2 separate regions of the Homo sapiens genome follow, and region 1 is linked to region 2. Evidence: promoter capture Hi-C in human tissues and cell types (Jung and others, 2019). All regions are on one chromosome and are shown on one strand. The core of a region is centred on a gene start or on the middle of the fragment in contact, and the rest is flanking DNA. Distances in the headings are between cores, read along the strand shown.

Region 1 (6,331 bases), core at 794-3,293, 520 kb before region 2:
TCAGTTTTATGGCAGATGTGGATGTGTAATTTTCTTTACTTGAAAAGTCTTTGTCAGGTAATGTCGAGAATTATGCTGTCAAATTTTCCTCTTCCTCTATGTCATAAAAGAATTTGTGTAAAACTGGCATTATTTCTTCCTGAAATGTTTGAGAAAATTCTCCATCTCTCAATTGAATTGAATATTGAGAATTGAAATCGGAAATAAGAATTAAAGTCATCTAAGCCTAGAGTTTTCTTCATAAGAAGAGTTAAAGTACAAATTCAACTTTTGAAACAGATATATGAATATTCAGACTACATGATTTTTTCTTGTGTCTGTTTTGGTAATTTATATCTGTCAAAAATTTTGACAATTTCATCTAAGTTTTCAATTTTATTGGCATAAATTGTGCATAATATTCCTCACCCTTTTGATGAATACAGGCTCTATAATGATATTCTCTCTTTCATTTATAGTTTTTTCCTCTTTTTGATCCTGCAAGTAATTTCATTACTTTTTCGGAGAGCCAACTGTTATCTTCATTAACTTTTGTTATTGTTTGTCTTTGTTCTGTTTCACTGTTTTTGGCTTTTATATTTATTATATCCTTCCATCAACTTATTTTGATTCAATTTTCTTAATTTCTAGCTTCTTAAGGTGAAACAGATATAACTTACTTTATTACACATTTTTTTTCTAATGTAAGTATGTGAAGCTATAAAATTTCCCCTAAGCACTGCTTCAGTTGCATCCAACAATTTTCAAATATTATGTTTTCAAAATCATTCAACTTAAGATATTTAAAAATTTCTTCTTAACCTGAAAAATCTTTGTATCTCTTTATTTTTCTGTTTTTGCATCTCTAATGTCACAGGGCTATACAGAAAGATCTCTGGTTGATTGATTGAGTATATCATTATAATTTTTAATTGACCATAATAAGCAGTTGACCTTTAGAATTTGGTAGGTTTTTACATTTAGTGTATTTTTTTAGCACAAAGCAAATTATTAAAATATTTTTCAATACTATTTTTAGGACCAAAATATTTGAATTTAGTAAGATGCTACTCAGTAACTTTCTCTAGGAATATAAATTGCAATATAAAAATGAAACCACACATTATGTCCATCAACAATGGGAGACAGAAACGTGAGTCATCCAAACATAGTAATATATTTGGTGTTTATATCTTCAGAACAGGTATAAAATTAATGAACAAACTTTCAAAATACCACACATTATGTCCATCAACAATGGGAGACAGAAACGTGAGTCATCCAAACATAGTAATATATTTGGTGTTTATATCTTCAGAACAGGTATAAAATTAATGAACAAACTTTCAAAATAAAGAACAATACTGAGAAATGAAATAATCTGAAAATACAGAAATAAAAGAACTTCTCTAAGTGGGACTGTGATATAATAAAACAAAATTATCTGATATTCATTCCCAGTTCCTAGCAGAGCTTCAAAAACCTGTGGAATTTCATGAGTGATAGGAGACTCTAGGCTAATGAGGCAACTCTGGGCCTATCCCCTAGATAGTTTCAGCATAGGGCCTGGTCACCAGAAACCAACCACATGATTAGAAAGTTGGAACTTTAAGCCAGCCAGGGGATATCTGGGAAGGAAGTGAGGCTGGAGACTGAGTTCAATCGCATGTCCAATGGTTTAATCAACCATGCCTATGTAATGAAACCTTGATAAATACTCTGGACAGGAAAGCTCAGTAGAGCTTCCTGGATGGTGAAAACATTGACAAGGCAGGATGGTGGTACTCGCTAACTCCACTGGAAATAGCAAGGAAGCTCTGCATCCAAGACCCTCCCAGACCTTTCCTTATGGGCCTTTTCATTTGGCTCTGCCTGGATTGTATTCTTTATAATAAAATTGTAATTGTAAGGATAGCACTTTTGAAGTTTTGTGAGTCATTCTAGCAAGTTATCAAACCTAGAGAGGGTTGTGGGAACCACTGAACTTGTAACTGGCTGGTCAGAAGTGCTGGTGTCCCACAGCCCCATTTGCAGCTGGCATCTGAAGTAGAGCCAATCTTGTGGAAGACTGAGCCCTTAATTTGTGCAATTTGATGCTAACTCTGAGTGGTTAGCATCACATTTGTATTGTAGCACTCCAGCTTGGATTGTGGGGGTTGCAAAACAGGGACATGTATAAAGAAAAGATGTGTACTTGTGGCAGAGAACGCCAGTCACAATCCTTATCCGGGCTTGTTTCTGACGTAACATTAGATTTTTGTTGTTGTTGTTGTTGCCTATTTCAGTTAGGCATGTGTCCACCCAGCTAAAGCAATATTTCTTGGCCTCCATTAAAATTCTGGCCAACAAGATTTATGCAGAACTGTTATATATCCTTATCTACTCTTTCTATTATGAAAGCTATTTGCTGTCTCTGCTGTGGCACTTACGTCTTAACAGCAGATAACAATTCTTAGCTGCTTTTATTTTTCTTTCCTGACAGTAGCATCTCAGATCCAAAATTTGAATCTCTTTAAAACATGTATCACACTACATAGACTTAATACACCTTTCTGATAGACTAATAAATTTTGCTGAAACCCCCAAGAATGTGTAGGTGGCCAGTTGATAATAGTAAGTCACAAGCCCTGGATTCCATACAGAAAAGGTGTACGCTAATATGCACAGTCACTATTTCCAAAAACATTTGCACAGAGTGTGAAAGAGGCACCTGCAGGAAAAACTCCTCCATTAGGGCCATGGTCCACCGATAATGCAGCTTCCAGGATTTGGCTGGGTGGCTGATGTCTGCTGCGTGGAGAATCAGGGACATGGTTTTGGCTCTGTCAATCCTGTCAAACCAAGGACATGCTTATATTATTCAAAACAAAGGAAACAATTACAGTCTTTTCTGAGGCCAAGCCCCTGGAACTTTAACATGACAAAAAAAAAAAAACAACAAAAAAAACACAAAACCTACCCTTCAGGCTGCTGCAAACTGTTTCTTATATTTTTAATTTGCTGGAAGTGACCTGACATGTCTGTAGATAAAACCATTTCAATCACTAGGTTCCGAAGATCCCTGCAGAGTCACCAAAAGGAGAAAGGTTCATTCAGCCATTTATTGTTCTGAAGTGGAACACTTCAATAAATAATCACTCACCATGTTTTATAGTTCTTAATGGATATGAACACAAAAGATGCTACTTTTTAAATGTGAAAGTCCACACACAAGTTTGATATTATTTTACCTTTTAACTGTCATGGATCTAAGAAGTTGCCAGCAGCGAGAATGGCAACGATGTTCACACCTCCCTGAAGAGCTAGTGCTTTCCCTTCTCACTCCCACAACTCTTCTGCAGTCATAATTCCTAAATATTATTATTTTTAATCTGAAAGGAACTTTAGCCATTTTAAAGAAAAACTATTCCAAATACAGTATTATATAGTATTTCAATGCTTTGAGGAAAAAAAGTAGTCCAGTGGGGCCTGAGACTATTCTAAATCCACATGTCAACCAAACTAAAAGGTTTGATGTCTCAGAGAAGAGACAGAGATAAGAAGAGCATGAGATTTCAAGACCCTATCTGATTCTTCTTCATTTTGCATTTTTAATCAAAACGACTACTATTAATAAAACCAGTGCTATTCATTCAGTATTTATTCAGCAAGGCACTGAACTGTAAGGATTAAATGTCTTCATATAATACCGATAATAAAATACTTTAGCAACTAGTTGCTTTGTATGTATACAAAGACATTTAATCCTCCTAACAATCCTGAGGGAGCATTAATATTTCCCCCCAAAGGAGACTGAGTCACCCAGTCACACAGCTGGTACATGGCTCAGATAAGATTCAACGCAAGAGGTCCCACTTCCAAAGCAGACACATGGACCACTCCTCTGTGCCAAGCTTCCATCATAAGAACCCCAGAGAAACCAAGATGCTAAAGTGAGTAGTGATTTTCTGTTTAAGCTTTTGGGATCTGACCCTCCCTAACATAAAGAGAGCCATTGGTATTACTGACTATTTTAACCAAGGCACTGTAAATACAATAACCATGTCACAAAGCCTCACACTTAGTAGAAAATAAGGCACCCCAGCAAAGCCTTGCATGTTCCACAATTCCTTGTTTGCTCTATACAGATAAGTTAAAAAAGTCACTTGTACTGGAAAACATATTTCATTTTCATTGTGTGGTGTGGCCAGTAGGATAAGCTGAACCAAAAGTGTGAAGGAAACTTGAATTACGATCTTGCACAAAGATACTTTACTTAAAGATGATATAATCTATTTAATTGCCTTTTTAAAAAAACTATATATTGGCTGGGCATGGTGGCTCACGCCTGTAATCCCAGCACTTTGGGAGGCCGAGGCGGGTGGATCACGAGGTCAGGAGATCGAGACCATCCTGGCTAACACGGTGAAACCCCGTCTCTACTAAAAATACAAAAAAAAAAATTAGCCAGCCCTGGTGGCGGGCACCTGTAGTCCCAGCTACTCGGGAGGCTGAGGCAGGAGAATGTCATGAACTCAGGAGACAGAGCTTGCAGTGAGCCGAGATTGCACCACTGCACTCCAGCCTGGGCTACAGAGCAAGACTCCGTCTGAAAAAAAAACAAAACAAAACTACATATTGATGGTTCTTGCTGAAAATCATGAGCACTCAACATTTCTATTGAATTTTTAGATAGAAGCCATGAGAATCAATACTCTGCTTACTTACTTTTATTCAAGTAGTAAGGGAAAGGAAGCTATTAATAAAATTATTCTCAATTACATTTTTTTCGCTGAAAATATGACAAGACCCATATTTGAAAAGCAACTGAATAAGAACATTTATGTTTGCTAAGGAAAATGAGATTAGAGTTTAAGGAAATCAATAGAATCTAATAAGTATATTGTGCTTTGCATATAAATGATCAGTAAATGCTAGATGTTATCAATAACCAACTAATAATATGTCAATAATTAGGCAAAATAAGAAAACATTACTTAATTTATAAAATTTTCTTGTGAAAACTTTTAAATTAATGCATTTATTTTTACTAAAAGTACTTTAAGAAATAAACAGATATGTAAACAGAAAACATCAGTCTTTAAGAAGATATCCATATTTTAATTCTTAGTAAAATGTTATCAAACGTATAGCATCAAATAGGTATTTTATAGATTTTTGGAAAGTGTTGAATCTATTAAATTCTAAAATGTATATAATATGTACACTATTTGTTAAAACAATTCTTTAAAAACATTCAATTAAAATGACTCTGAAGTTACCAAACAGAAACTTAGACAATTACAGCAATAAACTATTAGAATAAAATATTTAAAATGGTAAATAACAAAATATAATAGGAAATAAAATCACACTGAAATAGCAACAAAGTGAACTTTGAGGAAAAAATGTTTATTTCTTTGAATAACAACAAATTAATATTATAAAAATTATCTATGGGAATGGTAATCACTGATTAAGAAAATAAACTAATACCCTAGATGTAAATAATCTCTCTTAGGCTTTAGGAAATATCTCAGAACTTGTCTGCTTGTTCCTACCTTTGCCCATCTAATCGCTACATAGCCCAACAGTGGTCTCTTTAAAATTATTTCACAGTTAGATCCTGGCATTTCTAGACTGTAAATCCTCTTGGGCTACTATTTCCTGCAGAATACAGTTAACCCTTGAACAACATAAGTTTGAACTGTGTGGGACCACTCGTACACATATTTTTTCCCCTCTGTCACACCTGAGAAGCAAAACCAATCCCTCCTCTTCCATTCTCCTCCTCAGCCCACTCCACATAAAGACAGAGGATGAAGGCCTTTTTGATGACCCACTTCCACTTAATAAACAGTAAATATATTTTCTATTCTTTATGATTTTCTTAATAACATTTTCTTCTCTCTAGTTACTTTATTGTAGTAATATTGTATGTAATACAAATAACATACAAATTATGTATTTATCAACTTTTATATTATTGGTAAGGCTTCCTATCCAGAGTGGGCTATTAGTAGTTAAGTTTTTGAAGTGTCAAAAGGTATACATGGGTTTTCAGTTGAATGGGGGTGCCCCAACCCCTGTATTGTTCAAGGGTCAACTGTAAAATGAAAGGCCTGAACTGTGTCTCCAAAAGAAAGTTCCACCTTCCCTCTACCTGACAGCATTTTCTAGAGTTGCAAAAATGAGCCCATATCTCTAGATATGGCCTTGAAGAACCAGGAAACTTTGAAAATTTGAAAAAGTGTTCACAGGAGATTTAGGCTTATTTTAAACTCTGATTTTTATCTTTTACGTTTTTTAATGTTTTTATTGTCACTTTCCTTTTGGATATTTCTTTTTACCTTGATTTAAAAAAACAAAAATG
Region 2 (6,385 bases), core at 126-2,625:
CTATTTGTCTAACATTCTCCTGTTCTTTCTCCAGTTTTGTATGCTTTGCATCCTCTCTCCAATAGCTGCCAGGATGATCTAAAATACAATCTCAGTCTCTTTTTTAAAAGCTTCCTCATCACCTAAGAGATAGAAATCTATGTCTTCATCTTGGTATAAAAACCTGTCTGTGATCTGGTCCCTGCTTCATCTTCCAGTTTTCTGTTTGTTTTTCAATTTACTTTAAGATTTTGTTACAGTGTGTAACAAAATGGTTACACACTGTGTCATAATGCTTAACATCATAGTCTCTGAAGCCAGGTTGCTTAGATGTGAATCCTAGCTCTCAAATATTTGCCTCAGTTTCCTCAAATGGGAAATAGATATAGGAGCCACTATCTTGTAAGATTATTTGGAGGACTAAATGAGTTACTACATGTGTGCTTAGACCAGTTCCTGAGACATATTAACTACTATTACATCAGGCTGCTTCTAATGTTTGCCTTTGTTCATTCTACTTCCTCTTCTTTCCTACCAAGTATTAGCTTAGCCATAGATCCTGTGTAGTTTTCCAAGTTTTTAGAAGCTGACACTTGATTTACTCCCCGAAACTGTTACCAATCACAACTTATTTCATGTTAGGGTTGATGTTATAAGCAGGTATCCTCTAGGCTCGGTTTTCTCTTTTAAATATAGAAAATGTAGTAAATATAACCACTTCAATTGTTATATTGCTGTGGGACAAAATGCAGTTCCTGTACCATAGCAGTAGGAGATCAAGGTAAGAGAGAACAACGATAACTCCCCAGTTTCTAGCTTGTATGACTCAGAATCCAGAAAATATTGTAGAAGTCTCAAATGCTTGTTGATACACACGCTTACACAAAATTGTAAATGTTTTAATTTCCTTCAAGTTTCCTACTGCCTCTTCAGTCCGCTAGCCTGATACTGCAATCAGTGTCGCTTCAGGCAACTTCTCCTTTCTCCGCCAAATTTCGCCTTTCGGTCTCACCCACCCATCACCCAGACAAATCCTCCAAAGCTCCGTCTTCCCTTTAAAAGACTCTCAGGGAACTCAACCCCAAAACCCACCCTCTGGGTTTCCCCGTCACCCTGGCAACGGAAGCAGGAAGAGGCGGGCTTCGCCATCCACCCTCCCCGCCCGCGGCAGGCGCCGGCCGCATTGGTGAGGGGGCGCGGGCTGCTTGGCCAGGGCAGTTCCCTCAGCTCCGGGTTGGAGCCGGAGCCGGAGCCGGATCCCGCGCACACCGCCACGTCAACCTAAACCTACACCGCCCTCTCCACCCCACCGCCGCAGCGCCCGCTGGGCCCGCAGCGGGTCTCCCCAGGCAGCGTCCTCCACGCCTTTCCCACAATGCTCCGCGCCAGGCCCCGCCCCGGCTCGCCGTGGAGACCGGCGCGTGAGGAACCTACCGGTACCGGCCGCGCGCTGGTAGTCGCCGGTGTGGCTGCACCTCACCAATCCCGTGCGCCGCGGCTGGGCCGTCGGAGAGTGCGTGTGCTTCTCTCCTGCACGCGGTGCTTGGGCTCGGCCAGGCGGGGTCCGCCGCCAGGGTTTGAGGATGGGGGAGTAGCTACAGGAAGCGACCCCGCGATGGCAAGGTGGGCATGGGCCCGGGGCTAGGGCTTTGCTGGAGCCGGTGGTGGCCTGGGCCCTCCGGTCAGGGAGGGGCGGAATGGCTGAGCGCCTGAACCTCCCTTCCTGTGCGCTCTTAAGACCTGGATATTGTGTTCTCGCTCCCCACCTTCCTCCTCCCTGTTATTCACACCACCCTTCCTCTGCCCAGCGATTCCCTCTCAGTTACTTACACTTTCTCCCTAAGTCCGACCTGAGACTTCAGACACCAGCAACACTTAACAGCCCTGTTCCCCCGTGTCTTCATCTTTACCCCTCTCCCCTCTCCCACTCTGCAGTGATGGCAATGCGAAAGCTTGCGCCTTGCATTTACCTGGCGCTTCCACCTGCCCGGTAGCTCGGGCCACGGGCAGTTCGGCCACACCCACGCTGAGAACAACCCCTGGGCGAGAAACATCTTATCCCAAAGTGTTGATTGAGACTATGCCCTCTCTTTTTCTGATGGTTGTTTTCTTGTTTGGATACTTGTTAATCTCTACATCATTATATTTTTCAAAGGTATATTTTTGTGGAATGAAAAGGAAGTATTAGAAATGAGCTGAAGACCATTCACAGGTAAAGAGAAAAATTTTTAAATATACATTTAGGATTAAATGAAAAACAGAAATGAGGTGCGAGGAGCGTTAGATTTTTCAAAGCATTACGATCTCTTTGGAACTAAAATATAGTGGTTGAAATGTGATATGATGAAGTAATGATTGTTTTTGCCCTGCAGAGAGTATGTCTAAATAACCGATTCCCTTCTCTTTTTGTGTTTTGTTTCTACTTACACCAAACATGAACTTTGCAATAAAATTACACTGGTAACTTACAATTGTTTTTCTACTATTTTTAAAAAATGGCCTCTACTTAAATTCAGTATAAGCACCTTCTGAGGAAACTCCGGGAAGAAGATCGACTGCTGTGTAGATTGTCTATTATAACAATATATTTCACTGTCATTTCTGGTAGGGTTATATGAGAAGTAAAAAACCCTATGTTTCCTTCTAGTCCCTCCCAAGGACATTTCCTACAAGTGAATTCTGCTGAAAATGAAAATTAGACAGCTTTAGGAGGTAAAGAAGTAGCTAAAAGGAAGAGGTATTACAGGCAACGCTATAACTGGGTAGAAAGAGGAAGCACCTGTAGCTCATTGCCACCTTTGTGTTCTGATGCTCGTCAGAGGTCTTTTCTCAGTGTATAAATTGCTGAGGGTGTGTGTGCAAGCTACTTACTACCACTCATGACCTTTTTTCTGCTATCTTCAGTGATTTCACAAATCTAGCTACATGGATGTAGAAAGAGTGAAAAATAGAACCTGGGGCATTCACACTGATTTGCCATTTAATGGAGATTGTATTGCTGACCATGTTCTGTGATAAATAAATTGTGCTATTATTGTTTAGTTCAAAATGTATTTTAACTGCCTGCTTTTCTTTCTTAGATTAATATTTTTGGGGACAGATTTGTGATGCTTGATTCACCCTTGAAGTAATGTAGACAGAAGTTCTCAAATTTGCATATTACATCAACTGGAACCAGCAGTGAATCTTAATGTTCACTTAAATCAGAACTTGCATAAGAAAGAGAATGGGAGTCTGGTTAAATAAAGATGACTATATCAGAGACTTGAAAAGGATCATTCTCTGTTTTCTGATAGTGTATATGGCCATTTTAGTGGGCACAGATCAGGATTTTTACAGTTTACTTGGAGTGTCCAAAACTGCAAGCAGTAGAGAAATAAGACAAGCTTTCAAGAAATTGGCATTGAAGTTACATCCTGATAAAAACCCGGTAGGTAAACGTTTGTTTTTAAAAATATTTGATTATATTTTTGGTACATTTTGATATTTATTTAAATTGCTTTAAATGATCAAATGCTTAAGAATAATCATATGTCAAAATTATAATTCAACTTGTATGCTAGAAACAAAAGCACCAAAATGTTCTGGATTATTTAGGATCCCGTGAAGGAATGTCAGTACCAAAAATTCAGTTCCCTCTTAATTTGTAGACGATTTTCCAACAATTCTATTAAAGACATTAACCCCAAAACAAACGATAATATCCGTGAAGTAGTTGAAGTAGTTTTCTTATTAAAGTAGGTTAAGATCAAGTGTTTTAGAACAGGAACAAAAATATTTTTTTAAAACTCAGAGGGTATGACTTGCTAAAAATAGAAGTAATAGCTAATAATAGCATGTTTTAACTTTGACTGTTTTCTTCTGTGTATGCACAAGTCCACAAACCAGAGTTAGAAAGTTTTATAAATTAATACTTCACAGCAGCTGAATATAATGCCAGTCATAAATATTTATGTACACATTAATGTAAATCTTTCAAAACTAAACTCATTTTAATTTTTATGGTGTTTTTGTAATTTATTTGATTATTTCTTAGTGAGATTTAGCGTTCATCATTAACAAGAAGACATAGTTATAATTTTCTCTTTTCTAGGTAGAAGTTTTAAAATAGGATTATTTTCATTGCATAAAGCTGAGCAAGAGAAACAATATTTCTTTAAATATTGTTTAGTTGATTATCTTTTCCTAAGATCCACATTCTATTTAAGGTTTTTATTTTTTTTTAATTTTTCTTTAAAATTTCAAATAATGATTTTTAAGTTTCCATATAAAAGACAGTAGACCTTCTACCATCCGAGTATTATTTAAATGAAAGCATCCTTCAGAAACAAATTTTATGAAGCACAGTAACAAGGAAGAAACATTTCCGATCCAATTTTGGATTGTTTTCTTTTTTTTTTTTTTTTTTTTTTTGAGATAGGGTCTCACTCTCTTGCCCAGACTGGAGTGCAGTGACGCCAGCGGCTTCCTGCAACTTCTGCATCACAGGCTTAAGCAATTCCCCTGCCTCACCCTCCTGAGTAGCTGGGATTACAGGCGTGCGTCACTACTGCCCAGCTAGTTTTTGTGTTTTTAGTAGAAACGGGGCTTCACCATGTTGGCCAGGCTGGTCTCGATCTCCTGACCTCAAATGATCCACCCTCCTCAGTCTCCCAAAGTACTGGGATCGATTTTGGGGTGTTTTCTGATACTGGCTTTTATGTAATTAGCTGATAGATTGGGGCACATCCTTTTTTAATTAAGTTGATTTTACCTCAAATAGAAAAATAACCTACAAATGTATTGATTTATAATTGTTATAGGAGTAAAAAATATTTATGAAATTAAGAGTTTCAACAGGCTTATTATTTTCAGCTGCATTTTTTAGGAAGAATAACTCATGGTCTGATAACGTCTGTCAACCTTTTGAAGAGTCAATTATTTCATTACTTTTCTTACTTTTTTTTTTTTTTTTTTGAAGATTATAGTTTCTTAAAAAATACTTCATTTCAACCCATGGTAACTCATGTCATGTTGTATTACCCCTCCTTATGTTGGTATATGGTCTCCCAGAAGTTACTAGATTAATTAAACCTACATATATGTTTTGAAGAAACTTGGATTGTGTATCTGAAATAATTGTATTATATCTAATATTTTTTAACAGAATAACCCAAATGCACATGGCGATTTTTTAAAAATAAATAGAGCATATGAAGTACTCAAAGATGAAGATCTACGGAAAAAGTATGACAAATATGGAGAAAAGGGACTTGAGGATAATCAAGGTGGCCAGTATGAAAGCTGGAACTATTATCGTTATGATTTTGGTAAGGTGATACGATATTACTTATGAAATGTGTTTTATCTGAGTAAAAGAAAAGTGAATTCTGTTTCACCACTTAGCTTATATATTTAAGATGCGTCACTTTGATTAGCTCCTTTTAATTTGCTGTGGGAGTGAAATTTAAAAGGAATGTCAGTTGGTATACAGAGATGATCTGTACAGATATGAAGTTGTATTGGTTAAATCTTGTTAAATACTTTTAAAATAAGGATTGCTATTTAATAAAAAATATGCATTCATGGACTGCATAATGACATTTCACTTAACAATGGATTGTATGTAGGACATTGGTCCCATGAAATTATAATACCATATTTTTACTGTACCTTTTCTATATTTAAATACAAAGATACTTAGCATTGTGTTACAGTTGCCTATGGTATTCAGCAGTAACATGCTGTACAGATTTGTAGACTAGGTGTGTAGTAAGCTATACTATCTAGGTTTGTGTAAGTACACTCTGTGATGTTTTTGCAACAACAAAATTCCCTAACAACACATTTCTCAGAATGTGTCCCATTAGTAAGTGATGTATGACTATATGTTTGCATTAGGGGTAGCTAAATATTTCTTTCAGTATTTTTTAGTATTGAATAATATTAATTTCTTTCAATATATTTTAGAGCATCATATTGTCCAAGAAAGGCGAAACTTCAAGTTTAGTAATGATCTCTTCAATAGAAATGCCGTCCTTCTCATATGGAACCCTTACTGATTTTTAAGGTGTTTTGGCCTTCGGTTGACATTAAGGTCAATACCTTGAAACATTATCAATAAAGGTTCCATATGAGAAGGACGAAAGGTGTTTTTTTTCTTAAACATGGAGGAAAAAATAAGGTGGAAGGAGGAAACAAAGTAAAGGAACTAAGGAAGAGAGATTGTAAACACACAGGTATCAAGGGAGGAAGGTGTGTTCAGAGACCCAGTGTTTCTCCTAGTCATTAATTAACCTCAAATGCAGGCTAAGAACTGAATATGCTTCTGTATTAGACTAAATGAAGTATTTTAAATTTATATCTGGAGGATTTGCTTTTAGTAAATATGATTTTTTTTCAAAATAGTATTTTCAAGTATATTCTC

The links. Contacts are between HindIII fragments. The study calls those that stand out against the background at their distance.
Region 1: a fragment that was not itself captured here is called in contact with the fragment with the promoter of DNAJC10 in region 2 in 2 of the 25 tissues and cell types used here (dorsolateral prefrontal cortex and mesenchymal stem cells).

What each region holds. Positions count from the first base shown.
Region 1 is chr2:182,198,750-182,205,080 of GRCh38, forward strand. It overlaps PDE1A (phosphodiesterase 1A), which reads right to left. Exons shown (of 15, transcript NM_001363871.4): 9 at 2,939-3,040; 10 at 2,690-2,810. Among named protein-coding and RNA genes, the nearest start is that of PPP1R1C, 220 kb to the left of the region's middle. The HindIII fragment of the contact is 3,719 bases long and covers 185-3,903 here.
Region 2 is chr2:182,714,882-182,721,266 of GRCh38, forward strand. DNAJC10 (DnaJ heat shock protein family (Hsp40) member C10) reads left to right here and starts at 1,376. Exons shown (of 24, transcript NM_018981.4): 1 at 1,376-1,602; 2 at 2,135-2,191; 3 at 3,060-3,409; 4 at 5,126-5,288. The coding sequence starts at 3,206. It also overlaps a transcript of PDE1A not described here. RefSeq lists enhancers at 859-1,008, 1,029-1,098, 1,443-2,047 and a silencer at 1,609-1,768. The HindIII fragment of the contact is 2,921 bases long and covers 1-2,648 here.